Regions from separate parts of the Homo sapiens genome. Here region 2 is linked to region 1. The links are contacts of gene promoters, found by promoter capture Hi-C in human tissues and cell types (Jung and others, 2019). All regions are on one chromosome and are shown on one strand. The core of a region is centred on a gene start or on the middle of the fragment in contact, and the rest is flanking DNA. Distances in the headings are between cores, read along the strand shown.

Region 1 (5,872 bases), core at 857-3,356:
CTGGCTTGATATTTCCTTTATTTAGCACCACTTACCATCATAAAAATGGCTTCCAGGTCATTATCCTAACCACGTTTAATACAAGCCCCAATGTCCTTGGCATTTATTTGGTTCTTAGTCATATTTAATCTTGTTGCTGAACCAGTCTTCAAAAAAATTATTTCATGCCTTCTTTCTCCTTGTATTAGTCCATTCTTGCATTGCTATAAAGAACTACTTAAGACTAGGTAATTTATAAAGAAAAGGTATTTCATTGGCTGTACAGGAAGCATGGCTGCAGAAACTCACAATCATGGTAGAAGGTGAAGGGGAAGCAGGCATCGTCTTCACCTGGCAGAGCAGAAGAGAAAGAGAGCAAAGGGGGGAAGTGCTACACACCATTAACCAGATCCCATGAGAACTCACTCACTATCACAAGAACTGCAAGGGGGAAGTCTGCCACCATGATCCAATCACCTCCCACCAGGCCCCTCCTCCAACTTTGAGGATTACAGTTTGACATGATATTTGGGTGGGGTCACAGAGCCAAACTATATCACTCCTTAAACCTCAAATGCCTCCTCCTCTATTCACAAACATTCTAGCCTCCTTTCTTCCCAGAGGCCTAGCAAGATTGCACTCCACAGGCCCCCTTTGAAGTTAGACGTGGCAGTGTTACTTATTTCACCAATGATACGTAGACAAAAGGTCATATATCACTTCCAGAGACAGGCTTTAAGAGCCAGAGTGCCACTTTTCTTTTTTCCAATTTTGGCAAAAGAGAGCAAAGAAAGCCTCCTAGCTCCCTGAGTAAGGTTAGAGCAAGCAGCATCCTCTAGCTGATCTACAATAGACACTTAGCATGAGAGAGAAATAAACCTTTGATGTGTTAAACTGCTGAGATACAGGAAATAAGGAGGTTGTTTGTTATTATAACATCCCAGCCTATACTTTGCTTCCTAATTTGGTGAGAAAATAGAAGCAATCAGAAGAGAACTTCTACAACCTCCCATGACCACATGTGCGACTGATTAGTCACCCTATACTCTGTCCTCCTCCAATATTTGAATGAATTCTCCATATTCCTATCTAAAGCCCATCTTTTATCTTGTACACCAGATGGGAATATTTTTCCTTACTCAAGGCCGACATTCAAATATTTCTCTTCTTTGTCTCTTACATAATCAATGTTTCCCTTTCTACTAGATCCCCTTCATCAGTAAACATACATAATATCTCCTGTTTTGAAACAATCTCTCCACTAGTTAACAGCACCCCAACCCCATCTCCAATGTGCTGTAATACTTGCTCCTATTCTCTTCGGAATTATCTCACTAGGTTCTGCTTGGCCCACTACACTGAAAACTGCTTTTGTCAGGGTAACCAATAATATTGAATTTACTAAGTCTGGAAGTCAAACCTTGGTCCTCACATTGACTTGGTTGACCATATTCCTTCCTTCTTGAAATATTTTTGTACATGGCTTCCAGGACACAACTATCCTACCTACTAATCCTCTTCCTACCTCACTGGCTGTTCCCTCTTGATCTCACAAAGCCTAAATGTTGGGGTTCAGGTCTTGGGTGTCTTTTCTTCTTCATTCACACCCTCTTGCCAGGTGACCTCATCCAGTTTCATGGTTTTACACTGTCAACTGAAGAATAACGAGGTTCATAAATTTAGAAAGGAGAGCTTTATTTTTCATAAAGAGTACTGAGTGTCAAGTATGTGCCAAGCAAGGTGTCTGCCACTGACGGAGCAATGCCCAAGCAGCGGACACCAAGGCCAAGAAGGCGAAGGCTGGACAGAAGGTCCTGAGAAAACCGTGAGAATATGGAGGAGGGGGAGGAGGAATAAGAACAGGAGGAGGAGGGGGAGGAGGAATAAGAACAGGAGGAGGAGGAAGAGGAGGGGGAGAGAGGAAGAGGGGCAGGAGGAAGAGGAAGAGGAGAAAGCGGAAGTGGGGGAGGAGGAGGAGGAGTTGGAAGGGGAGGAGGAAGAGGGGGAGCAGGAAGAGGGGCAGAAGGAAGAAGAAGAGGGGGAGGAGAAAGAGATAGAAGAGTAAGAGGAGGGGGAAGAAAGACAAGGGGAAGGGGAGGAGGAGGAGGACGGGGAGGAGCTTCGCCGCGGCCTGCTCCGCCCAGCCGGGGTCGGTGGCCGCATGGCTTCGGTCTCCTCTGCGACCTTCTCGGGCCACGGGGCTCGGTCCCTACTGCAGTTCCTGCGGCTGGTAGGGCAGCTCAAGGTGAGCGGGCACCAGGCCGGGAGGCCGCGGCCGAGCGGGCGGGACTGTGGGGCGGCGGAGCTTCCGGCCTCCCCGCTCGGCCGGCGGTCTTTGCCCTTCCTGCGCCGCGTCCGCCACGCCGAATTCCGGAAAGGCCCCAGTCCTGCGGATGCGGCCGCGCGTTGCCGACGGTGGACGGAGGAAGCAGCCGGCGGGACAGGCTGGCCAGCTGGGGCGGCCCGGAGTCTGAGCCTAGAGCCTGGCGCCGCGAGGTCCGCACTGCAGCCGCGCCAGTTCCCGGAGAGCAGCCGGCCTGGCCCTGCCTGCACTGAGCTTTTCCGGGGCTCACGACCCCAGAACTCGTGTGTGTGTGTGTGTGTGTGTGTGCTCACGACCCCAGAACTCGTGTGTGTGTGTGTGTGTGTGTAAAGCGCGGCTGCTTCTGAGCACGGGTGGGAAGAACAGAATCTGTCGGCTCCTCAGATTTTAAGTGGAGCTTTTTATGTCTGTCTCACAGTTACTTCCAGAAACAAGACTTTTCTCCCGGCCACCCCCCAAACGGGATTTAATGTAATACACACGAGTTTCATCATGTGCGTCTTCCCCGTCTCTCTCCCAAGTTCAAAGTAAATTATCCGTTTCATGCCACTCTGACTACTATTTATAACATTCCTTAGAGATGTAGAATTCTGAGGAAGAAATGCAGTTTCACAAGATGAAGTTATGATGTGAATAAAAGGAAGAGTCACGGCTGGTAGCATCAAGCAATTAGAAGTGCCCTTATCCCTTGTGCCTCAGAATTTGGAAGCCTATCACTCGTTCACGTTCAGACCCTTCAATACAGTGTTTTCTGCTTGTGTAGGATTATTTGAAGGCAAAAAGCCGCAACTCTTGTTCGGAAAAATGCAGTTTTGTTTTTGTTTAAAGGACTTGCATATGTTCCATAATTATACATCAGTAACAGAATAATTTGACGAATGGACTTTGTGACTTATCTCTCTCTGTCTTCTACCCCTTTCATTCTCTGAGCTCTCTAGTTCATTTGATTCCAGATGTCTATCATTTTAGCTAGTTTAGCAAAACATTTTGTAATAGGTTCTGAAATTATGACCCGGCTTCTGTGTGTTATATCCTGGACATCTCTTGAAGAGCATAGCAGATAGTTAATATTTGTTCTTTAAAACTTCTTTTTCTTCTTCATATTTATCAGAGAGTCCCACGAACTGGCTGGGTATACAGAAATGTCCAGAGGCCGGAGAGCGTTTCAGATCACATGTACCGGATGGCAGTTATGGCTATGGTGATCAAAGATGACCGTCTTAACAAAGACCGGTAAGCTGAGCTGGACTTTGATGCTCGTGAGAGATTCTGGTCTATGGGTGTGCACCCGTTTTTACTACTGAGACCCATGTCAAATCCTTGTAGGTTAGTTTATAGGTCAAGAAAAATTATTTGAAGCAAACCATACAAATTTAGGATGTGGGTTATGTTGCCTCAGTTGTTGTAAACTGCAATCTGGGGTTTCTGTTGGCAAGTGATAGAGCCTGCCTAGGGTATCAGGGGAAACTTAAGTGTGATATTGGGGCCTTGAAGGTGAGTGTGTTATGTCTAAAATTCTAGCATTGTATTAGTACACTGTGTGCTCTTTCCTAGTGCCTTTTATGGATAGTAGTATCCATTCGTGAGGCTTCCTTTTGGAGTTGTGTGTGCAAGACATAGCTGAGAAAGAGGTATCTTCTCCCCCTTCATTTAATCGACAAGTGTTAAAATGCTTTTTGAGCACAGAACAAAAGTTTACTAGCATGTAAGAGAGTAAATAAATCCCAAGTGAATTACGCAGGCCCAAAATAGCTTCTGTAAGAAGTGAAATGTAAGTTATGGTCGAAAATGTTAAGTATTGTAAGAGCAGGGGAGATCACCTGTTCTTGGTTGATCTTAATGGAGGAGGTGCAATCTGAGTTGAGCTCAAAAGGGTTAACGTAGCCAGAGAGGTAGGAGAAGTCACTGCATGCAGAGAGAAGGGCAGATAAACCAAAGCCCTGAGTGTAGGAAAGTAAAGGAGTATTTTGCAAATGAGAAATTAATCAACTTGACTGCAGCAAAGAGTTCATTTGGGAAGCCTGAGGAGTCCTCTGTTACTCAGCAGATGAAGTGGAACTGAGGAGGTTTTTGGCAAATGGTACAAGGTGAAAATGAAGTCCAATAGAGATGCAGTTTGGAGTAGTCTGGGATTTGAACTGGACCAGAAAGAGACTAGAGGCAGGGAAATCTCAGAGGACACTGTTGGGCCTTGTACTGCCTTGGTAGTGTGGGGAGCCTAAAACATACTGGCCCTATGGGGCATTTATCTCATTACTTGACTTCCTGTTTTGATGATGAATTATCACAACCACTATTCCTTAACCGCTAATAATCATAACCACTTATTGAATGATTCACATGTGTCAGGAACATGAAAGTTGTCAAATGTAATCTCGTTTTTTTTTGTTGAGACAGTCTCACTCTGTCGCCCAGGCTGGAGTGCAGTGGTGCAGTGTCAGCCAACTACAACCTCCACCTCCCAGATTCAAATGATTCTCCTGCCTGAGCCTCCTGAGTAGCTGGGATTACAGGTGTGTGCCACCACACCCAGCTAATTTTTGTATTTTTAGTAGAGATGGGGTTTCACCATGTTGCTAGGCTGGTCTCGAACTCCTGACCTCAGGTGATCCGCCACCTCGGCCTCCCAAAGTGCTGGTATGACAGGCGTGAGCCACCGCACCTGGCCTATTAGCCTTTTAAAGTGAGATTTCAGAGATAAACCATTTAAGAAAAAAAATTAATGCTAACAATTTCCCCTATACTCACATGTATTTTATTGAATATGAACTAACAGTTTTGATCAGAACTGTTGTAGGCTGGCAGAATATAACTACTTTAGAAAATACTACATTAAAATACTCTGTGAGGGTGGAGAAAAAATATATATATTATATAACTTTGGAAGAGTATAGAGAAGGAACTTGTAGTAAATATAATTCTGTGTAATTATTCGACATTTCTTGCCTGATCAGATGTGTACGCCTAGCCCTGGTTCATGATATGGCAGAATGCATCGTTGGGGACATAGCACCAGCAGATAACATCCCCAAAGAAGAAAAACATAGGCGAGAAGAGGTCAGTGTTGACTATTGACTGTGCAAAAAACCACCAGAAAAACCTCTTGCTGAAGCAAAGCTAAGTTTATGAGACCTGTTACAGTTAGGGAGAATACCGCCTTGATAGTCTTAGTAGTGTCTTAGGAAGGGGAAGGTCAGGGGAAGATATTTTTAGAGATTCAGGGCCTGGGCTGGAGAATATTAAGATGGATCTGACAAGTTAGGCAACTAGCTGGGATTGCACAGTTTAGGATATAATAGATTTAGATTGGTAAACATGTGAAGGAAGGTCGTAATGAGTTTTGAAGAATAAACTGTTAGTGTTGACCCAGTTTTAGGGGGTTTACAGCCTTATCTTCCAGAAGCAGGGATTTCCTGGAATAAGCAGCAGATTGGATTTTGCTTGTTGTGTTAGTCTGTTCTTTTGTAGCTTTTATAAAGAAATACCCGAGGCTAGGTAATTTTTATTTTATTTTATTTTTGTTAATTTCACCTTTTATTTTAGTTACAGGGTACATGTGTAGATTTGTTA
Region 2 (5,309 bases), core at 1,461-3,960, 450 kb after region 1:
GTAATGTGTTGTTTAAAGGAAAAAATAGTGAGCAAACACAATGACAGGTCAAATTTATGACTCTTTCTTGTTTGTCGTTTCTATATTCCGCTTGAGGATTAGTGTTCAAATTGAGTATAAGTAAGAATTGTCAGCCCAGATTTAACTATCCACTGTTGTAACCAGAATACATTTTAGGGTTAAAGATGAATAATTCAAGAACTATTTCTGGGAGCTTTTTTAACGTTGCAACTCTAATCAGCAGGTGGAATTTAACAGCAACTGCATTAATCAGAAACTAACAAGGTAAAAATTACTCCCTCTCTAGATACAGAAAATTTTTCTCATTTGCAGTAGCTTTTTTTTTTTTTTTTTTTTTTTTTTAAAGGGAGACCTCATTCAGAGTATTTTTATTTAGTACCTAGCAGGTAAAGCAAAGTAGTTGAGAGCCTGCCACGTGAGAGGTAAGATGTGTGCTTATGGATCAAAGATGGTCTCACAGCAAAATATACTCCATTGGGCTATTAGAGAGGCTTAGCTGCATTGCTTGTCACTTCACATACACAGTTCCTCACATATACTCACACATCTCTACTGCTGCTATTGCTAGCAGTTTTAATTAGGGACTGTCTAGCCAAGCACAACTTGCCTGCCTTGCACCCCCTGTTCTCCTCCTCTGGGGTTGACTGGAGCTCAGTACTGCCAAACTGTTGATTGAAAACTTCTTGAATGAATGAACTTATCAAATACTTCCATGACTTCCTGGTAGTCCTGGAAATGTAGTCCTAGAAATGTAGTCCTATGATGCCTGGTACAGTGCTCCTGGCCCTTGTAAGCCTGGACTAGACTGACCAGTCTGAGTGTAATTAACATTGCCCCTGCAGAAACAGGGCAACTGAGAGGTGGTGGCTGTGTGGATGAGTCTCCTGAGGACTGAACATTGTGCATCCACCTGGGTTTAGAAGCACCAATTGTAGTGGTCAGGGTTTTCCAAAGAAACAGGGTCAATAGTATATGTATAGACATATAGAAAGATATTTATTTTGAAGAATGGGCTCACACAACTATGGAGGCTGAGGAGTCTCAGGACCTGCCATCAGTAAGCTGGAGGCCCAGGAAAGCTGGTGGTGTAATTCCAGTTCAAGCCCAAAGGCCCCAGAAACAGGAGCATCAATGTACCCCAGATGGGAGAAGATGGATGTCCCAGCTGCAGCAAAAGGCAAATTCACCCTTCTTCTGCCTTTTTGTGCTATTTGGGCACTCAGTGAATTTGATGATGCTGGCCCACATTGATGAGGGTAAATCTTCTTTAATAAATCTACTGATTCATATGGTAATCTCTTTCAGAAATACCCTCACAGACACACCCCGAAATCGTATTTTGCCAGCTGTCTGGGCATTCCTTAGCCCAGTCAAGATGACGTATAAAACGGACCATTCCATTTCATCAGTGTGAAGTGAGAGTAATCTTTGCGTGGCATTGCTGTGTTGTTACAAATGCCTATGTGAGCTGAAGGGAGTGGTTTGTTACTCTGAGTTTTAAAAAGTAAACCTAGGTTAAAAACATATAAAAACATTATGATATTTTTGGTTACTATAGCCTTGTAGTATAGTTTGAAGTCAGGTAGCGTGATGCCTCCAGCTTTGTTCTTTTGGCTTAGGATTGACTTGGCGATGCAGGCTCTTTTTTGGTTCCATATGAACTTTAAAGTAGTTTTTTCCAAATCCGTGAAGAAAGTCATTGGTAGCTTGATGGGGATGCATTGAATCTATAAATTACCGTGGGCAGTATGGCCATTTTCACCATATTGATTCTTTCTATCCATGAGCATGGAATGTTCTTCCATTTCTTTGTATCCTCTTTAATTTCATTGAGCAGTGGTTTGTAGTTCTCCTTGAAGAGGTCCTTCATGTCCCTTGTAAGGTGGATTCCTAGGTATTTTATTCTCTTTGAAGCAATTGTGAATGGGAGTTCACTCATGATTTGGCTCTCTGTTTGTCTGTTATTGGTGTATAAGAATGCTTGTGATTTTTGCACATTGATTTTGTATCCTGAGACTTTGCTGAAGTTGCTTATCAGCTTAAGGAGATTTTGGGCTGAGACAATGGGGTTTTCTAGATATACAATCATGTCGTCTGCAAACAGGGACAATTTGACTTCCTCTTTTCCTAATTGAATACCATTTATTTCCTTCTCCTGCCTAATTGCCCTGGCCAGAACTTCCAACACTGTGTTGAATAGGAGTGGTGAGAGAGGGCATCCCTGTCTTGTGCCAGCTTTCAAAGGGAATGCTTCCAGTTTTTGCCCAATCAGTATGATATTGGCTGTGGGTTTGTCATAGATAGCTCTTATTATTTTGAGATACATCCCATCAATACCTAATTTATTGAGAGTTTTTAGCATGAAGGGTTGTTGAATTTTGTCAAAGGCCTTTTCTGCATCTATTGAGATAATCATGTGGTTTTTGTCTTTGGTTCTGTTTATATGCTGGATTACATTTATTGATTTGCGTATATTGAACCAGCCTTGTATCCCAGGGATGAAGCCCACTTGATCGTGGTGGATAAGCTTTTTGATGTGCTGCTAGATTTGGTTTGCCAGTATTTTATTGAGGATTTTTGCATCAACATTCATCAAGGATATTGGTCTAAAATTCTCTTTTTTGGTTGTGTCTCATCTTATGATATTTGCAGTATGCATTTGGTTTTTGAATTTGTAATTTGTTTTGACTTTGTTTCTCAGTCTAAAACCTCAGAATAGAAGAGCAATATGAGTTTAATGATATCTAAATCAGCTGTTTTATATTGTCAGTGAATTAATAGTAAAAGGAGGATAAAGAAAACAAGTCTGTTGCCTATTTCTCATGTTGAATTTGCAGAAGTTTTTAAATTTCTAGTTTTAGGTTTTGCACATAACAATAAAAAATGGTTAGATAAGCTTTTGTTTGTTAATGTAATATTGTTTTTATAGGATACAAATAGTAAAATCAAGGAAGCTATGTTATTTTGATAAAATTGAGATACTTAAATATCTGGATTTGGTGACAGCAACAGTAAACTGACTGATTTGTTAAATAAAACCTTTTGCCTTTAGTAGAGCTATAAAGTTAGTCATAATGGTTTAAAAAGATATCACTTACACAGCTTAAATTCATCTTGATTTAACCAAAAATATTCTTCTTGACCTAAGACTCTATTGAAAATATCTATCGGATTAGACATTTCAATGAGAACTAGTCTCTCTGTCTTATAGTAGCTTGAAGTCCTGACTTGTCTTTTTTCAGCATAGTGACAGAATTAATTCCTTTTATTGCATAAGAATTTAATTAATTTCTAAAAGCTCTGTGGGCTTAAAATTATTTTGTTGTCAATTTTTAATATAAAATCTTAGATGGTATCACTGAGATGTAGAATCAAAGAATGTATGTTGATAAAAATTAAAACTAAATTGTTTACTTATTTTGCCTATAGTCTTTGAGAAATTCATATATACTCTTTTAAACACTAGATGGCACTAGAAATGTATCATAATAAATTGTTTCATCAGGAGGAATTATTAATTTTATGACCTCCTAAGATGGTGTGTTCTTTGGTTATATATTTTTGAACATTTAAAATAATTTAACTATTTCCACTAGTACCTTTAATTACTGAAATAAGTAATGAGGTTTCCAAACTGTAGAAATACATAATTCATAATTAAAATTTTTCAAAGTATTATTTTAGTGGTCCATAGATATTGCCACACCTCAGGTTTCCTCATCTTATGAGATTGCTTCCCTTTAAGTTCATCAAAAAGAAGACACATGCTCTACAAATAGAAATAATGAGTAGGTTCCTGAATTGTTTACTAACCTGATTACCCATGAGGCATGAATCATCTGAACACACTGGAAAAAGATTTAAATTCTTGACACATATTACTTCCTTCAAGAAAGATAGCATAAAACGAATGATATGCCACTATATGAGGACATTAATGACAAATTTTTCATCAATTTAAGAAATATTTACAATTAGTCACTGAGTAAGATAATTGGAAATGCCCTGAAATCTCGCAATATAAACACTTTCCCAAATTTGACAGTATTCCTAAAAATTTACCATCATCAACAATGTTTTGTGAAGCCGAAAGACACTTTTATATACTATCATTAAAACATGTTGGTCAGCTGTGCTAGAGGAAAGGCGGCTGAGTTATAGTCTTTGTCATGTGGCAATATGATCGAAGAGTGTAGCCAGTCAATGGGGTATTTCAGATAGTAACATAATCCAAGCGTTAAGATCGATTCTGGATCTTGTGATTTTTGTAGCGTTTGTCTACTTTTAAAACTTTTTGATTTGTTGTAACTTCTTTTCTCATTCTGAATACATGTTTACTTTTATATGTAATTTTATATATATTCTTTTTCTTCAGTAGGGCTTAAAACACTGTGTGAGCTTCTACCTGCCCAAACCTGGATTCATTCTGTTCCAATGCCTTTTAAGTCCCAATAATGTCTTGCTCCCATTTAACTCTCTGGCCTTATCTACATTCAGCATATTACTTTATATTTTTATAAAAAGTAATTATTCATTTTTGTTCACATAGCTTTATTTTTTTACCACCGGGATTTTATGTATGTTGTACTCTTTGTTTTTTATGTCCTTTCCCTTGGGATTGTCTTTTAAATTTGTATTTATCCAAGTCTATGAGACATGTCTCATATATGAGGTGCAAAAAGTAATTACGGTTCTTGCTATTACTTTCAATGGCAAAAAACACAGTTACTTTCATAGTAACCTAATGTTATTTCCTTCAGGAAAGGGGCTGTGATCTCTCTCCTAAACTTCCACATTTCCTCAAGCCAGCTAAGAGTAATTTCTCCCTCATCTAGAAAAACGTATTTTTATTTTCTTCTGTGACACATTTCTATGTGTATTTAACATCCTATATTTGTAAGAATGTATTATTTTTTCTACTGGGTTCTTAACTTCCTGATGAAAGGGACTGAATATTACCCATCTTTGGGTTTCTTACAGTACCCAGCACAGCTCCTTATGCATCATTGGTAACCCATAAAGATGTTTAAGATATATTAATGAATATATGAAAGCTGTTTGATCTGAGGGTCACAGCATATATTTTTCTCTGCCTGTTCATTTGAACTCTTAATTTTTCAGACTTCGGTACATGGTTATATTTAAAATAAAATATGCAACAACCAGAGACTTTAGGAGACAAAAAAGAGGATGTTTTCTGCATTTACAAAAAAAATTGTGCTTCTATCTCAGTATAGACAACATCACGGCACCATAGTTTCCACTTCTGGCATATTTTTAGTCGCTTA

The links. Contacts are between HindIII fragments. The study calls those that stand out against the background at their distance.
Region 2: a fragment that was not itself captured here is called in contact with the fragment with the promoter of HDDC2 in region 1 in 1 of the 25 tissues and cell types used here (dorsolateral prefrontal cortex).

The regions. Positions count from the first base shown.
Region 1 is chr6:125,298,201-125,304,072 of GRCh38, reverse strand. It overlaps HDDC2 (HD domain containing 2), which reads left to right and starts at 2,106. Exons shown (of 6, transcript NM_016063.3): 1 at 2,106-2,224; 2 at 3,414-3,535; 3 at 5,257-5,359. The coding sequence starts at 2,141. RefSeq lists a cis regulatory region at 403-583 and a silencer at 2,077-2,416. The HindIII fragment of the contact is 16,583 bases long and covers 1-5,872 here.
Region 2 is chr6:124,852,696-124,858,004 of GRCh38, reverse strand. No RefSeq gene overlaps it. Among named protein-coding and RNA genes, the nearest start is that of RNF217, 110 kb to the left of the region's middle. RefSeq lists a silencer at 1,295-1,495. The HindIII fragment of the contact is 3,311 bases long and covers 1,055-4,365 here.